Linked DNA regions of Homo sapiens: all the other regions are linked to region 3. The links are contacts of gene promoters, found by promoter capture Hi-C in blood cells and fetal thymus (Javierre and others, 2016). All regions are on one chromosome and are shown on one strand. The core of a region is centred on a gene start or on the middle of the fragment in contact, and the rest is flanking DNA. Distances in the headings are between cores, read along the strand shown. Region 1 overlaps ANKHD1-EIF4EBP3 (ANKHD1-EIF4EBP3 readthrough). Region 2 overlaps ANKHD1-EIF4EBP3 (ANKHD1-EIF4EBP3 readthrough). Region 3 holds the start of DND1 (DND microRNA-mediated repression inhibitor 1).

Region 1 (4,529 bases), core at 1,527-4,026, 200 kb after region 3:
TGTCTGATATTAATATTGCTTTACATAATTTTTTCCCATCACTGTCAAGCTTTCCTCATCACTTTGCTTTAGGTTTGTCTCCTGCAAACAGCATTTGTTACATTTTGATTCTGACTCTAATTCAGAAGTCTCTGCCCTTTAACAATTGAGTGTAATAGCTTTATATTTGTTCTGATTACGATTCTATTTTTCTTTAAAAAAAAACTTTATTCAGTACCTTCTCCTCCTGAACAACAACAAAAGACTCTAGCGTGGCTTTTAAACTCTCTAACACATCCTTCTGATTTCCTGCTATTGTTTTCTAGAATTTTAGTACTACTTTGGTTTTAAACATTAAAATTTAGGTTTTTAAACTCAAACATTTGTATTTATAATATGTTTTATCAATTTCTTTGCTTACCGTAGTTTCTTGTATCCCACGCCTTCCTCCAGGACTCACTTTTCTTCTTACTGATGTATATATCTTTTAGTAGTTCTTTTGTCAAGGGTCTAATGATGGTAATTCGTTTATTCTTTGTAGATTTGAAAATATGTTTATTTTTTCCTTCTCTAGAATGGTACTTAAGTACAGAATTCTGTATTGTTATTTTATCTTGGTATTTTGAGGATATTACTTCCCATCATCTTCTGTAATTTATTATTGCTGATGAGAAGGTCAAAACTTTGATGGTTGTTTTTTTGTAGGTAATGCGTTTTTTTCCTCTGATAGCTTTTAAGACATTTTTCATTATCCTTAAAGTTCCACAGTTTCATCTGTTCTGCTTAGTGATGGATATGATTCTTCAGTCAAGGATTCATGTCTAGTCACAATGCTAGAAAATTCTCCACCATTCTCTTCAAACATTTCCTCTCCCCTCCATTTCTATCCTCTCCTTCAGGAACTTCTAGTAGATAATATGGTGGAGCTTCTAATCTATTCTCTTTCTCTCAATTTCTTTTTCATATTTTCTATCTCTTTACTATATTTCATTATATATTTTATTGTATTATTTCTTGTTTTATCACTCATTCACTAATGCATTCAACTGTGTCTAATATGCTGTCTTACCCTATATATTGAGGTTACCCCCCAAAACTTTTAGTTTTATTTTATATCCACCTGTTCTTAATACGTAATTATCAGCTTTTGCTTTATTATCTCACATTGTTTTATGGCTACTGGTCATAGTTTAAAATAAACATGTTCATAATTCTCAAGATTAAAGTTTATTTCAATTTCCTTGAGTGTATTATATTTTGCTTTTTGTTTGTTTACATTTTGACTATCTTTCTTGATAAAGATTCGCTCTCCAGCTTTATAATTTTTTTACTGAGGAAACTCATTTTGATGGGAGGTGTTTTGTTTTAGTTTCTTTTCCATCCACAGATGTACTCCTCATCAGATGTTTTGGAAGTTCCCTCAGTCTGGCTCTTGGAGTCCATTTCAGAAGTAGATATTTTGCTGGACACCTAAGGTTCTTGTCTCATAGAGATATTTCACTTCTGTTCCCTAAATCAAGAAGGTTGTCCTCCAAGTTTTTAGTTACACAGTTGTCTCTGTTTCTTCCATTAACGACAATTTGCTAATTTTTCCCCCCTTTTTTTTAGTTTTTTTGGGTTTGTTTTGTTTTGTTTTTTACATACAACCTGGATATGACAATTTGCTAATTTCTAACCATAACCCTAGATAGTTGATCAAATATTTTTTTATCCATTTTGGTTCACAGGTAGGGCAATAAGATGCCGGTTCCTTGCTTTATTCAAGTAGACTAGATCTACTGATGTACTACATGTGAAATGCATTCATTCCCTATTCCTCTGCACATGCTGAAATCTCAGCCCCCATTGTGTATTTTTTTAGCCCTTAATTCTCCTTGGGACTACAGCTTAAACTGTGGATCCATGCTGCACTTCTAGTCCACGGAGATCTTTAATCCTGTTGTTTTGGGGCACGACTACATATTTTTAGATTCATTTTTCTATATACTAATAATGACTTTACCTTCTTGACTGAAGTCATTTGTACTTATATTTAAACAACCTGGAGAGAGCTGAAAAGAACTCATTCAATACACAATAACATAGAAAGAGAGAACTTGGCTTTAAAAGAAATGTATTAGGAGTTTTGTGTATTCCATAGGTAGTTTTAGATTTTTAAGAAATTGACAGAAGTTTCCTAGTTTTAAGTAGTAAAGTTAAAAATATGTATATACGCTATTCCTTAATAAAAAAGTTAAAAAGTGGAAGGTAAGGTCACATTTAAAGTTTATTAAGGTAAGGTAATTACTAACAGTTGAAATACATTGATAAGTAGATTACTAGAGCTCATAAGCTCCCTAAAAATATATCTATAAAAAATACACTACAAGTCTGGGCAAGATAGCAAGACTTTGTCTCTGAAAAAAAATTTAAAAATTAGCCAGGCATTGTGGTGCATACCTGTAGTCCTAGCTACTCAGGAGGCTGAGGAAAGGGGATGCCATGAGCCCAGGAGTTCAAAGCTGCAGTGAGCTATAATCACGCTTTTGTACTCTAGCCTGAGCGACAAAGTGAGACCATCTCCAAAAAAAAAAAAAAAAAGAAGAAAAAAAAAAGGTTCTGATGAATGAGCACTGTAAGAAAAAATGTGGAATTTTTTCTATTTGGCTTTAGATAACAAAATTTTATTTTAAATTAAGTTTATTTTATTTAAAATAAGTTAATTTCCCTTAAAAAATCACAGCCACAGGGCACCCAAGACATATATTTAAGGACTGTAACTATACCACAGAGGCAATGTCTTTTGGAGTTGGAGGGAGGACATTCTCTAAGGAGAAAGACCAAAATCACAGAGAAAAGGAGGGAGACTGTTTGATACTGTACGTACTAGAGGATTCCAATACTCTTCCATGGGGAGTATGTTCCTTCAACCCACCACTGTATATTAATCATTACCTTAGTGATCTACTATTACTGATTGGATTCATACCCCTCAGGAGAACTGATATGGATAAAAGGTTAAGAGGCACTGGTCCTAAGGCTTGTGTTTAGCACATTTTCTAAAAATCACAAGTAACAGAGAGAAAAACCAAGTTTATTCAATTTGGATGGAGGAAAAATGATCGATTATAAAGCAAAGATGGAAAAAGAAAAGAACTCAGCAATGATGCAGAATAATCTGTATGGCCTCTACCAATGTCTCAAAGTGTAAAATATGGAGAACTTGTCATCAGAATCTCCTGAGATATTAGTTCAAATGCAGACCCCCTATTTCAGATCTATGGAATCTGAACCTGTAAACGTGGGGCTGCAAAACTCATTTTTAAAAAAATCCTGTTTTGAGACTTGCAGCTAGAGAGAAAGATTTACAATTACATTTCATCTAACAAATCCAGGGAAAAACAATTACTTTGATCTGAAATAACACTCAGCTTTACATTCTTGATAGGAGCCTATAATATTATACAAACTGAGTAGAAGCTCACATGTTCACATCACATTTTGTAAAATAAACTTACTTACTTCAAAGTAGAATAAATATATCCAGCCTGGACAGTACAGTGAGACCTCATCTCTATAAAAATGAAAAAAATTAGTTGGGCATGGTGGCACATGCCTCTAGTCCCAGCTACTGGGGAGGCTGAGGCAGGAAGATCACTTGAGCCTGGGATGGGAAGGCTGCAGTGAGCCAAGAGCACACCACTGCATTCCAGCCTGAGCAACAGAGTGAGACCCTGTCTCAAAAAAAAAAAATTTAAAAAATTTTTAAAAATCTCAACAGAATAAATAAAACAGCTTCTCATTTAACAAGCCAATGATGAAGACACTTAATAAGCATCATGATTAAGAGGGGTTTAGAATTAAGAAACTTAGGCCAGGCACGGTGACTCACGCCTGTAATCCCAGCACTTTAGGAGGCCGAGGCGGGTAGATCACAAGGTCAGGAGTTCGAGACCAGCCCAGCCAACATGGTGAAACCCCGTCTCTACTAAAGATGCAAAAAATTAGGTAGGCACGGTGGCACGCGCCTGTAATCCCAGTTACTTGGGAGGCTGGGGCAGGATAATCGCTTGAACCCAGGAGGCAGAGGCTGCAGGGAGCCAAGATTGCAGCACCACTGCACTCCAGCCTGGGCAACAGGGCGAGACTCTGTCTCAAAAAAAAAAAAAAAAAGAAACTTAGATGGCCTAAGTTATTTGTGATCTAATCACAATTCATTAATAATTTTAAAATTAAAAACTGCTCCTGATTTTAAATAAATCTCTTTGGATTATAATGGATATTAAATTTATTTGACTTTTAAAACCACTGGGCACAAATTCACACATTTTTTCAAAAGAAATATTTCCTATGAAAAAATATTCACCTTCTTAAAAACCAATTTCAGAATAGTAGGAGACAATTTTAAGAAGAAAATTTTAAACTTCTAGTTTATAGAAATTAGGGCATAAACTATATAGTAAACGTTTTGCTAAACTAATTTTTTTGTTTATTTGAGTATTATTTTTAAAACAATCCAATATATTAATATCACTCTGAGTTTCAGATTTTTGATGAACAAAGTTGAATGC
Region 2 (4,758 bases), core at 1,303-3,802, 160 kb after region 3:
TGTAATTATGGCTCACTGGAGCCTCGAACTCCTGGACTCAAGTGATCCTTCCACTTCAGCCTCCTGAATAGCTAGGATTGCAGGCATGTACCACCATGCCCAACTGTTTTTTAAACTTTTTTTTGTAGAGATGGGGTCTCACTCTGTCACCCAGGCTAGAGTGCAGTGGCACAATCACAGCTCACTGCAACCTCTGCCTCCTGGGCTCAGGCCATCCTCTCTATGTTGACCAAACTGATCTCAAACTCCTAGGCTCAGCCTCCCAAAGTGCTGGGATTACAGGTGTGAGCCACCACGCCCACCCTCAATAATTTCTTTCTTTTTTTTTTTTTTTTTGAGACAGTCTCGCTCTGTCAGCCAGGCTGGAGTGCAGTGGCACGATCTCGACTCACTGCAACCTCTGCCTCCCGGGCTCAAGCAATTCTCCTGCCTCAGCCTCCCGAGTAGCTGGGATTACAGGGGTGTGCCACCACACCTGGCTAATTTTTGTATTTTTAGTAGAGACAGGGTTTCACCTTGTTAGCAAGGCTGGTCTTGAACTCCTGACCTCAGGTAATCCACCCGCCTTGGCCTTCTGAAGTGCTGGGATCATAGGCGTGAGCCACCGTGCCCGGCCCCCACCCTCAATAATTTCTAAAAAGGAAAATTATTTTTCCCACTCACCTTTTCCAGATCAAGTTCCTTTAAAAGAATACTCGCATTCTTATTTGCTTCTGCAGCTTGCTGGTCTTTAGCCTTCACAATGGTTTCGACACATTGATGACATTTTTTCAACAGTTCCTACAGCAGGAAATAGAATTATGTAAATATATAATGAAAGAGGCCAAATAAAACTTAAGCTGATGAGCACATTAAAGTCCAGAGGTTAAAGTTCAAACTGAAAAGTCACTAAACCAAATTAAGTTATCCTTTGAGTCCAATCTTTCACAAAAATAAGACACCATTTCCCTAAAAACCTGCATGTCCTTAGGAAGCCTTCTCATTAGGCTAATGGTTTAGTACCTTAGTGTAGTCACTGTGACTATGGTCCACAGTAGAAATCTCAAAATAGTTTATCAAAAGTATTATACCCCTCTATTTTGCAAATGGAGAAACAAACGCATAAAGAGATCAGGTGACCAACCTTTCAGAATATAAAAAGAACAAGTTCCTAACTGCACACTTTGGCATATCATTCCACAAAGAACAAAAATGTGCTTCAGTAGCATATTAAACTTACCTTATCTGTAATTGTTGCTATGTATCTCATGCATTCTATATCAGAAGGGAACTGATTTACTTCCTTTACCAAATATTGAACAACTTTTACATGACCCTATAAGAAGTACAACAATCTTAGACAAGGTAGCATGAAAAGAAAAATTATTATTCTTAAGAATAAAAGAAAGTAAAACAACAGAATTACAAAGGAATCCCTTGATTTTGCATATATGCCTACCAATTTAAGAATAAAAAGGCAAATACTTCCAAATAGAATATTAAGCTTAAAATTAAAATTATAAAAATAAGATCAGCATTCAGCTTATAAAAAGAAAGGCATAAAAGACAAGAATGTGTGCTCAGGAATGGATGGTGGACTAGACAACATTTCTCCTGAATTTAATCCCACTGAAATTAGAAAAAGCTTTTGTAGAAAAACAGTATCTCCTAGAATAAATCTATTAAACAAACATTGGTGATGTAAAATGAACCTCAGTGTAAAAGGGAAATGAGTCCTAAAATAAGTAATTTTTTTTTAAATTTCAAAGTCTTACTTTGCCTCTACTTCACTAACTAAACAAGGTGGACTATCACAACTTTCTGAGCCTTAGGACTTGAATCTAAATAAAACACTTTCTAAATGCCATTATCAAGGGTTGAAAGATCTGTAATCAATTCTAAGCATATCTTTTTTTTTTTTTTTTTGAGATGGGAGTCTCGCTGTTGTTGCCCCGGCTGGAGTGCCACGGCACGCTCTTGTCTCACTGCAACCTCCGCCTCCCGGGTTCTAGCAACTCTCCTGCCTCAGCCTCCGGAGTAGCTGAGATTACAGGTGCCTACCATCACGCCTGGCTAATTTTTGTATTTTTAGTAGAGACGGGGATTTACCATGTTGGCCAGGCTGGTCTTGAACTCCTGACCTCAGGTGATCCACCTGACTCGGCCTCCCAAAGTGCTGGGATTATGGGCGTGAGCCACCGCACCCGGCCAGCATATCTATTTTAATGTAACCAAGCTTGCATAGTTTCCCTTCCTACCAAGGTTCTAAAACATCCTTAAGAATTAGTGTGATGGAGATACAAATCAGAGAAATGCTTGCCTCTGGGGCAGGGAAGTGACTAAAAGTGGGCAAGAGGGAACCTTCTAGGGTTACAGAAATAATTTATATGTTTATGGGGTATGGGTTACATGTATGTATACGTTTATCAAAACTAAACCATGTACCTTAAGATTCATGCATTTCACTATATGTAAATTGCACTGTGCTAAACAACTGGGTATATAAACAGTGCTGAAAAAGATGGTCATGACTCTTGTCCTCATGGACCTACCAGTCTAGTTGGCGAGACAGGCATTAAAATGGTAAGTACATGTTTGAAGATATAATTACAAATTGGGGTAAGGAAAATCAAAACTCAACTATAAAAGAGAAACAGAGGGACCTTTTTCAGATTTGGTGTTAGAGAAATACTCTTTGAGAACTGACATGTAAAATTGGAGCTAACAGATGAGTAGAGAGGTGAGCTAGGTGAACAGCAAAGGAAATCATTTCAGGAAAAGAAAATCAGTGAGCAAAGGCCCTGAGGCAGTTGAAAATTTAGTGCATTCTAGGCCAGTAACTAGAAAACAGTGAGCAAAAGGGGATAGTAGCATAAATGATTTGTATGGGGAGGTTGACATGAAGCTTATTATGCAGGTCTTTACATGCCCTACTAAGTAGTTTATAGTTTGGGAAGCTATACCAATGGGAAGGCTTTTAAAAATACAGCAGATAAGTGAACTTTAATATATATGAGAGGCCGGGCATGAACTTTAATATATATGAGAGGCATGGCTCACGCCCATATCTCAGCACTTTGGCAGGCAGAGGTGGGAGAATCGCTGAGCCCAGGAGTTTGAGACCAGCCTGGGCAACATAGCAAGACCTCGTCTCTACAAAAAGTAAAAATAAAAAAAATCTGAGCATGGTAGTGACACCTGTGGTCCCAGCTACTCAGGAGGCTGAGGCGGGAGGATCAATTGAGCCTGGGAGGTTGAGGCTATAGTGAGCTATGATCATGCCACTGCACTCCAGCCTGGTTGACAGACTGAGACCGTTTCATACTCACACACACACACACACACGCACACAGAAGATACAGTAAGTTTTTATGAAAGTCTACTCCTTTTTGTTCCTCTTTAGGCACAAAAAAATCCATCTGCATATAATAGTTTTTCTTAAATCTTCTGTTTCATGAACAATGTATCACAAATAGTCAAGACACCAAGTGATTTAACAACCAAGTTGCTTATAGTGAACTACCACATAGATCTTAGATTTGGCCACAAAAGAATGGAAAGATAAGGTCGGGAGCCTGTAATCCTAGCACTTTGGGAGGCTGAGGCAGGCAGATCACAAAGTCAGGAGTTTGAGACCAGCCTGACCAACGTGGTGACACCCCATCTCTACTAAAAATACAAAAATTAGCCGGGTGTGGTGACGCATGCCTGTAATCCCAGCTACTCAGGAGGCTGAGGCAGGAGAATCACTTGAACCTGGGAGGCAGAGGTTGCAGTGAGCCGCGATCATGCCACTGCATTCTAGCCTATGTGACAGAGTAAGACTCCGTCTCAAAAAAAAAAAAAAAAAAAAAGAATGGAAAGATAGCAGTGATTTTTCTATGGAAATATACTCAATTCTCCAAGATAAACTTATCTTTCTCACATGGTTTTAACTTAGAATTGGCTTAAAATTGACCTTTCTTCCCCCATATCAAATTACCTTGCGAAATGCTGACATAAGAGGTGTGATTTTCCGGTTATCTGCTGCATCCACATCAGCACCTGCTTGCACTAGCAACTGCACAACATCAAAATGACCTCCATTGGATGCCAGCCAAAGTGGCGTATTTCCCTTTTTGTTACGAACATCAATGTGGGCTCCCCTGTAAACAAGGCATATTAATAGTTTGTTTCCTGTAAGAAGAGGCTGGCTTTTTCTAGTTTTCTCTATCTTCTTCTTTTACAAAATAACTTGCAAATAATCTTTTCTTAACAATATCAATAAAGTAAAACAATGTTATTAACTTTAAAAGCTCTGAAAAGTGAAAATGACCATGAGAAGTTCTACATATAATAGAAAAGTACTCACCTATGAATCAGGAGTTCACAAAATTTGTAGTGACCTTTGTCTGCTGCTATTGTTAAAGCAGTATCTCTTGAGGAAGGCACAGGGGGAGCATTAACATCTGCTCCTTTATCAAGAAGAACTCTTCCAACCTCTGCATACCCTCCAGAAGCTGCTTCCATCAAGGGGGTAAGACCCGTCTGTTTAAACCAATAAATTATGCAACTAAGTTACATTTCTTTTTTTAACTATTCCGTAGACCAAAACTAAGCTACATAATTTCTTTAAAAACCTGAGGCAATTAACTTTTAAGACAATTCTAGTTCTGATTAGCTCTCATAAAAGAGCTAAGCAATATTTTGCCTTGAATTTTACTAAACAGCAGTAGAAATTGTTAGATTCAGACGTGCTAGAATGAACTTAAAACATGTTATCTCATGCTAAAAACAATT
Region 3 (4,487 bases), core at 1,269-3,768:
GTCTGAGGCCCTGGGATCCCTCAGATGGCTACCGTGACTCTCTAGCACCTAGAGTAACACCAAGGAAGCCTCTTGTAGCCTCAAGCCCTCCTTTGTTGCTGCTGGTCTTAAGTGGCTGGTTGCATTTCATCTTCTGGGAAATGCTCTGGCAACCTCCCCACAGTCCTATGCCTTTTCTCTAGGGTGGAAACCACCCATTTCCCAGTTGAGATCATTTTTCCAGTAGGCATCTTACATTCTAAGAACTATGAAAATAGTTTTCCTGAAAAAGACAAGGGAAGCAGCAGCAGCATTCTCCTTTCCCCACACCCATATACACGCCTGTGCCCTGTAACTGAAGTGTGAGAGGCACAGTGTCATAAATGGGTAGATAGTAAGTGGGGACTAAAACTGTCAAGGGTGATCTAATTGGGGTGGGCTCATAGTAGTACTTCTGTGTGAATGCTTTGGTGGACCCTTAAGGTACTACATGGACCAGCCTGGGCAACATGATGAGACCCTGTCTCTACAGATTAAAAAAAAAAATTTTTTTTTTTTTTTAAATTAGCTGAGTATGGTGGTGTGTGCCTGTAGTCAGGAGGCTGAGGTGGGAGGATCACTTGAGCTTGGGAGGTCGAAGCTGCAGTGATCACACCACGGCACTTCAGCCTGGATGACAGAGACCCTGTCTCAAAAAAAAAAAAAAGGTACTACATGGAGATAAGCTTGAAGTTACTGTAAAAAAGCTACCTTTACTCTTGCCCTAAGTTATTTATTCTGATACGTCCTATGTACAAGTCAGTCAGTTCAGTCCTCATATCTACTAAAAGCTACCTTTATGCCCAAGGTGCTAGATGAGAAGACAGGGCCCCTGCCCTGGTAGAGCTGAGTTGGGCCTGGTCTCAAAATCCCGACTAGAGCCTGCTTTGTTTGCTCCTTGAAGGTGTTAGCCCAGCTCTCTTTTATCTGCCCCTTCCCCAGGCTTTGGAGGAGAAGATACGGACCACGGAGACACAGGTGCTTGTGGCATCTGCACAGAAGAAGCTGCTAGAGGAAAGACTAAAGCTTGTCTCAGAACTGTGGGATGCTGGGATCAAGGTATGGGAGGCAAGCCCCAGGGTGGCAGCAAACTTAGGTGTGCTGGACACAAACTGAATAAAAGCTCACCCATAATGGATCCTGCCATTACTTCTCAAAAGTAGAGCTAAGAACAGGGTGCCAGCTTGGACACCCTCTGTCCCTGAGGACAGCAGAAGCCAGCCTTCATCTTCTGCTCTTGTCCCCTGCAGGCTGAGCTGCTGTACAAGAAGAACCCAAAGCTACTGAACCAGTTACAGTACTGTGAGGAGGCAGGCATCCCACTGGTGGCTATCATCGGCGAGCAGGAACTCAAGGATGGGGTCATCAAGCTCCGTTCAGTGACGAGCAGGGAAGAGGTGAGGGAGGTGGGCAGGAAGGCTAAGGGACAGAGAATGTATGCCATTTTGGCAGGCCCATGCCCATTCAAGACCTGAGAAAAAGCCTGGCATTGATATTAGTACAACTCATAAAAGCCTTGAGGGCTTAACCTGTTACTGTGGTCTTAGTAGGGTGAGATCTCCATCCCTGCATATACCTTATGGTTTGTTGGCTCCCCCAAGAGGCACACTCTAGCCTGAGGTGTTTAATTAGGTTCCTGCTCCCAGCTGAGACAAGCCTGATGCCTAGAGGGCTAGAGGAAACTAGGCACTCGGGGAGCAGTGGAATGGAAGATGCTTATACCACCTTCTTCTCCCATCCTGGCCAGGTGGATGTCCGAAGAGAAGACCTTGTGGAGGAAATCAAAAGGAGAACAGGCCAGCCCCTCTGCATCTGCTGAACTGAACAAACTATCAGAGGAAAGGAAGTGGGACTGGCACTATTTGAGGTTAAGACAAACTGCATATGTACTTCAATTGCTTTGCACTTTTCCGTTTCAGCGGAAGACCTGAAGAGTGGTCAGAACAGAGCCTTTGATTTTTATTATGGTTATTTTATTGATTATTACTGGCAAAAACGGCCAGGTACAACACCTTTTTCATACAAGGCCCAGGAGGCTTAGTCCAGTCTGTGCTCCTGGGCTACAAGGACCCAGCCTGAGATGGTCCCATCTGCAGGGCCCCGCACCAGTTGGAGCAGATGCCTCCCCACCACCAATTGCCAAAGGTCCAATAAAATGCCTCAACCACGGAGTCTGCGTGTGTCAGTGATGCCTAGCCCCGCCTTCCCCAGCAGACCAATGTAGGGATGGAAAAGGGAGAAAAACAGTAAACTTGTGACCCTGAGGTTCTTGTCTCCAGCGTCCACCCTGCGGCTTGGGAGCTCCTCCTCGGGAGGCAGCCCCCGTACATACGCACCCGCGACTTTGCAGCTTTCACCTGAAGGTCTGAGCGAAGCCCGGGCGGCGCACGTGCAGTGGATACCTCCACCCCCCTGGGAGGCGGGGTCGCGCTCAGAGCCAATGAGAGCTTGCGGGGTGGAGGGGTAGGGAAGCTTCCAGAGGCCGGTGGGGAGGAAGTTATAAAGAGGGTACGAGGGGGCCAGCTGGAGAGCCATGCAGTCCAAGCGGGATTGTGAGGTAAGCGGCTGGCGACTTGGGGGCCGGCGAGCCCCGCCGGAGCGGGGGTCGGCTTTAGGGACCCCAGTACCACAGGAGAGGTGGGGGCGCGCTTGGCGATCCGCCATTCCAACCTTCCTTTCCCTCTCAGCTGTGGTGTGAGAGGGTGAATCCAGAGAACAAGGCGGCGCTGGAGGCGTGGGTCAGGGAGACAGGCATCCGCCTGGTGCAGGTGAACGGGCAGAGGAAGTATGGCGGGCCACCCCCAGGTACGGTAGTCCCAGCCCCTCCGCCTGTCCGGCTACACCAGCCCCCTTTGGGGGAGGGGCTGCTCCGAGCCTTCACTGTCAGAAACTGCGAACTACCCGGATTTATACCCCCCAGCAAAGGAGGAACTGTGGCTCCACGTCCACCCGCCCCGTCGAGGGAGGGGGCCAATCTCAAGGTGTACCTACTCTGTGCCAGCCCCCTTGTTAGCGCAGTCACCTAATTATGCCAACCACCCAGGGTACGGGTGTAAACCCATTTCACAGACCTTTGTTCACATCGCCTCCCACCCCCGCGCGCTGGGTCCGTGGGCTCAGAATTCGAAAGCGTCGCCTGACGGTGGCCTTGCATACCCTCTTCCCACAGGCTGGGTGGGCAGCCCGCCGCCAGCTGGGTCAGAGGTGTTCATCGGGCGGCTGCCTCAGGACGTGTACGAGCACCAGCTTATCCCGCTGTTCCAGCGCGTGGGCCGCCTCTACGAGTTCCGCCTGATGATGACCTTCAGCGGCCTGAACCGCGGCTTCGCCTATGCCCGCTACAGCTCGAGGCGCGGCGCGCAGGCCGCCATCGCCACGCTGCACAACCATCCGCTGCGGCCGTCCTGCCCGCTGCTCGTGTGCCGCAGCACCGAGAAGTGTGAGCTGAGCGTTGACGGCCTGCCGCCGAATCTGACCCGCAGCGCGCTGCTGCTCGCGCTGCAGCCGCTGGGTCCCGGCTTGCAGGAGGCGCGGCTGCTGCCCAGCCCCGGACCGGCGCCCGGGCAGATCGCTCTGCTCAAATTCAGCTCGCACCGGGCCGCTGCCATGGCCAAAAAGGCCCTGGTGGAAGGTAGGCTGGGGCGGGGGTGCTGGTTGGGGCCAAACGCGTTCTGCCCGGCACTTTATACTGAGCATAGCTGTTAAAGTTACAAGATCTTAGAGTCAAACATGCCAGAATTTGCAACCTTTTACTATTTGATCTCAGATTTTTAAAACTTCCAATGGTGCTACCACCACCGCTTACCTAAATTTGTGACACTTCCCGAGCATTACCTCCTGACTTAATTCTCAACCTTCCCCCACCCCCACACCGCAAAATAGGCACAGGACCCTCAAGCTATGAGGAAACTGTTAGAGAAATTGATTTGCTCAAGGGAATCCAACTGAGCTTTTTACTACTATAGAATCTGTTTCCTCAGACTGTTATGAGAATTAAGTAACATAATGGGTGTACGGTACTTAGCACACTGACTGACTTACAGCAAGTTTTCCCAGTAAAGATTAGCCATTATGATGGTTATGAGGCAGACAAAGCCTGCAATTAACCAGTACTTCTCCAAGGAAACTTGTAAGGTAGCAGTGTGTTATACTCCCTTTGCAAATAATGGAGGCTGAAGGCTTCATTGTCTTTTCTTACCCATGGTCACACTACCAGGAAATGGGAAGGCTACAAATAACAGGACTGTGTAGCTCCAAAGGGCTCACCACCTGGAGGCTTGGGCCCAGGGTTTAGACCTGCCCTTGTCTTTGCATTTTTCCTACAGGGCAGTCACACCTCTGTGGAGAGCAGGTGGCTGTGGAGTGGCTCAAGCCAGACCTGAAGCAGCGACTTCGCCAGCAGCTTGTGGGTCCCTTCTTGCGGTCCCCACAGCCAGAGGGCAGCCAGTTGGCTTTGGCAAGGGACAAGT

What was found. The method cuts DNA at HindIII sites, captures the fragments that hold promoters and counts their contacts. A CHiCAGO score of 5 or more calls a contact.
Region 1: a contact is called between a fragment that was not itself captured here and the fragment with the promoter of DND1 in region 3, in 2 of 17 cell types (naive CD8 T cells and monocytes). The highest score is 6.1, in naive CD8 T cells.
Region 2: a fragment that was not itself captured here is called in contact with the fragment with the promoter of DND1 in region 3 in 1 of 17 cell types (monocytes); the score reaches 6.0 in monocytes.

Annotation. Positions count from the first base shown.
Region 1 is chr5:140,472,629-140,477,157 of GRCh38, reverse strand. All of the region lies in intron 10 of ANKHD1-EIF4EBP3 (ANKHD1-EIF4EBP3 readthrough), which reads right to left. The region is part of intron 10 of ANKHD1 (ankyrin repeat and KH domain containing 1); the gene reads right to left. Among named protein-coding and RNA genes, the nearest start is that of EIF4EBP3, 73 kb to the left of the region's middle. The HindIII fragment of the contact is 5,450 bases long and covers 52-4,529 here.
Region 2 is chr5:140,509,385-140,514,142 of GRCh38, reverse strand. It overlaps ANKHD1-EIF4EBP3 (ANKHD1-EIF4EBP3 readthrough), which reads right to left. Exons shown (of 36, transcript NM_020690.6): 21 at 4,331-4,506; 22 at 3,962-4,124; 23 at 1,220-1,315; 24 at 664-780. It overlaps ANKHD1 (ankyrin repeat and KH domain containing 1), which reads right to left. Exons shown (of 34, transcript NM_017747.3): 21 at 4,331-4,506; 22 at 3,962-4,124; 23 at 1,220-1,315; 24 at 664-780. Among named protein-coding and RNA genes, the nearest start is that of EIF4EBP3, 36 kb to the left of the region's middle. The HindIII fragment of the contact is 669 bases long and covers 2,218-2,886 here.
Region 3 is chr5:140,671,607-140,676,093 of GRCh38, reverse strand. It overlaps DND1 (DND microRNA-mediated repression inhibitor 1), which reads left to right and starts at 2,518. Exons shown (of 4, transcript NM_194249.3): 1 at 2,518-2,575; 2 at 2,706-2,823; 3 at 3,188-3,649; 4 at 4,344-4,487. The coding sequence starts at 2,552. WDR55 (WD repeat domain 55) reads right to left here. Exons shown (of 7, transcript NM_017706.5): 7 at 3,749-4,487. It overlaps HARS1 (histidyl-tRNA synthetase 1), which reads left to right. Exons shown (of 13, transcript NM_002109.6): 11 at 961-1,077; 12 at 1,269-1,415; 13 at 1,766-2,189. The coding sequence ends at 1,837. RefSeq lists enhancers at 2,053-2,848, 2,849-3,644. The HindIII fragment of the contact is 8,462 bases long and covers 2,493-4,487 here.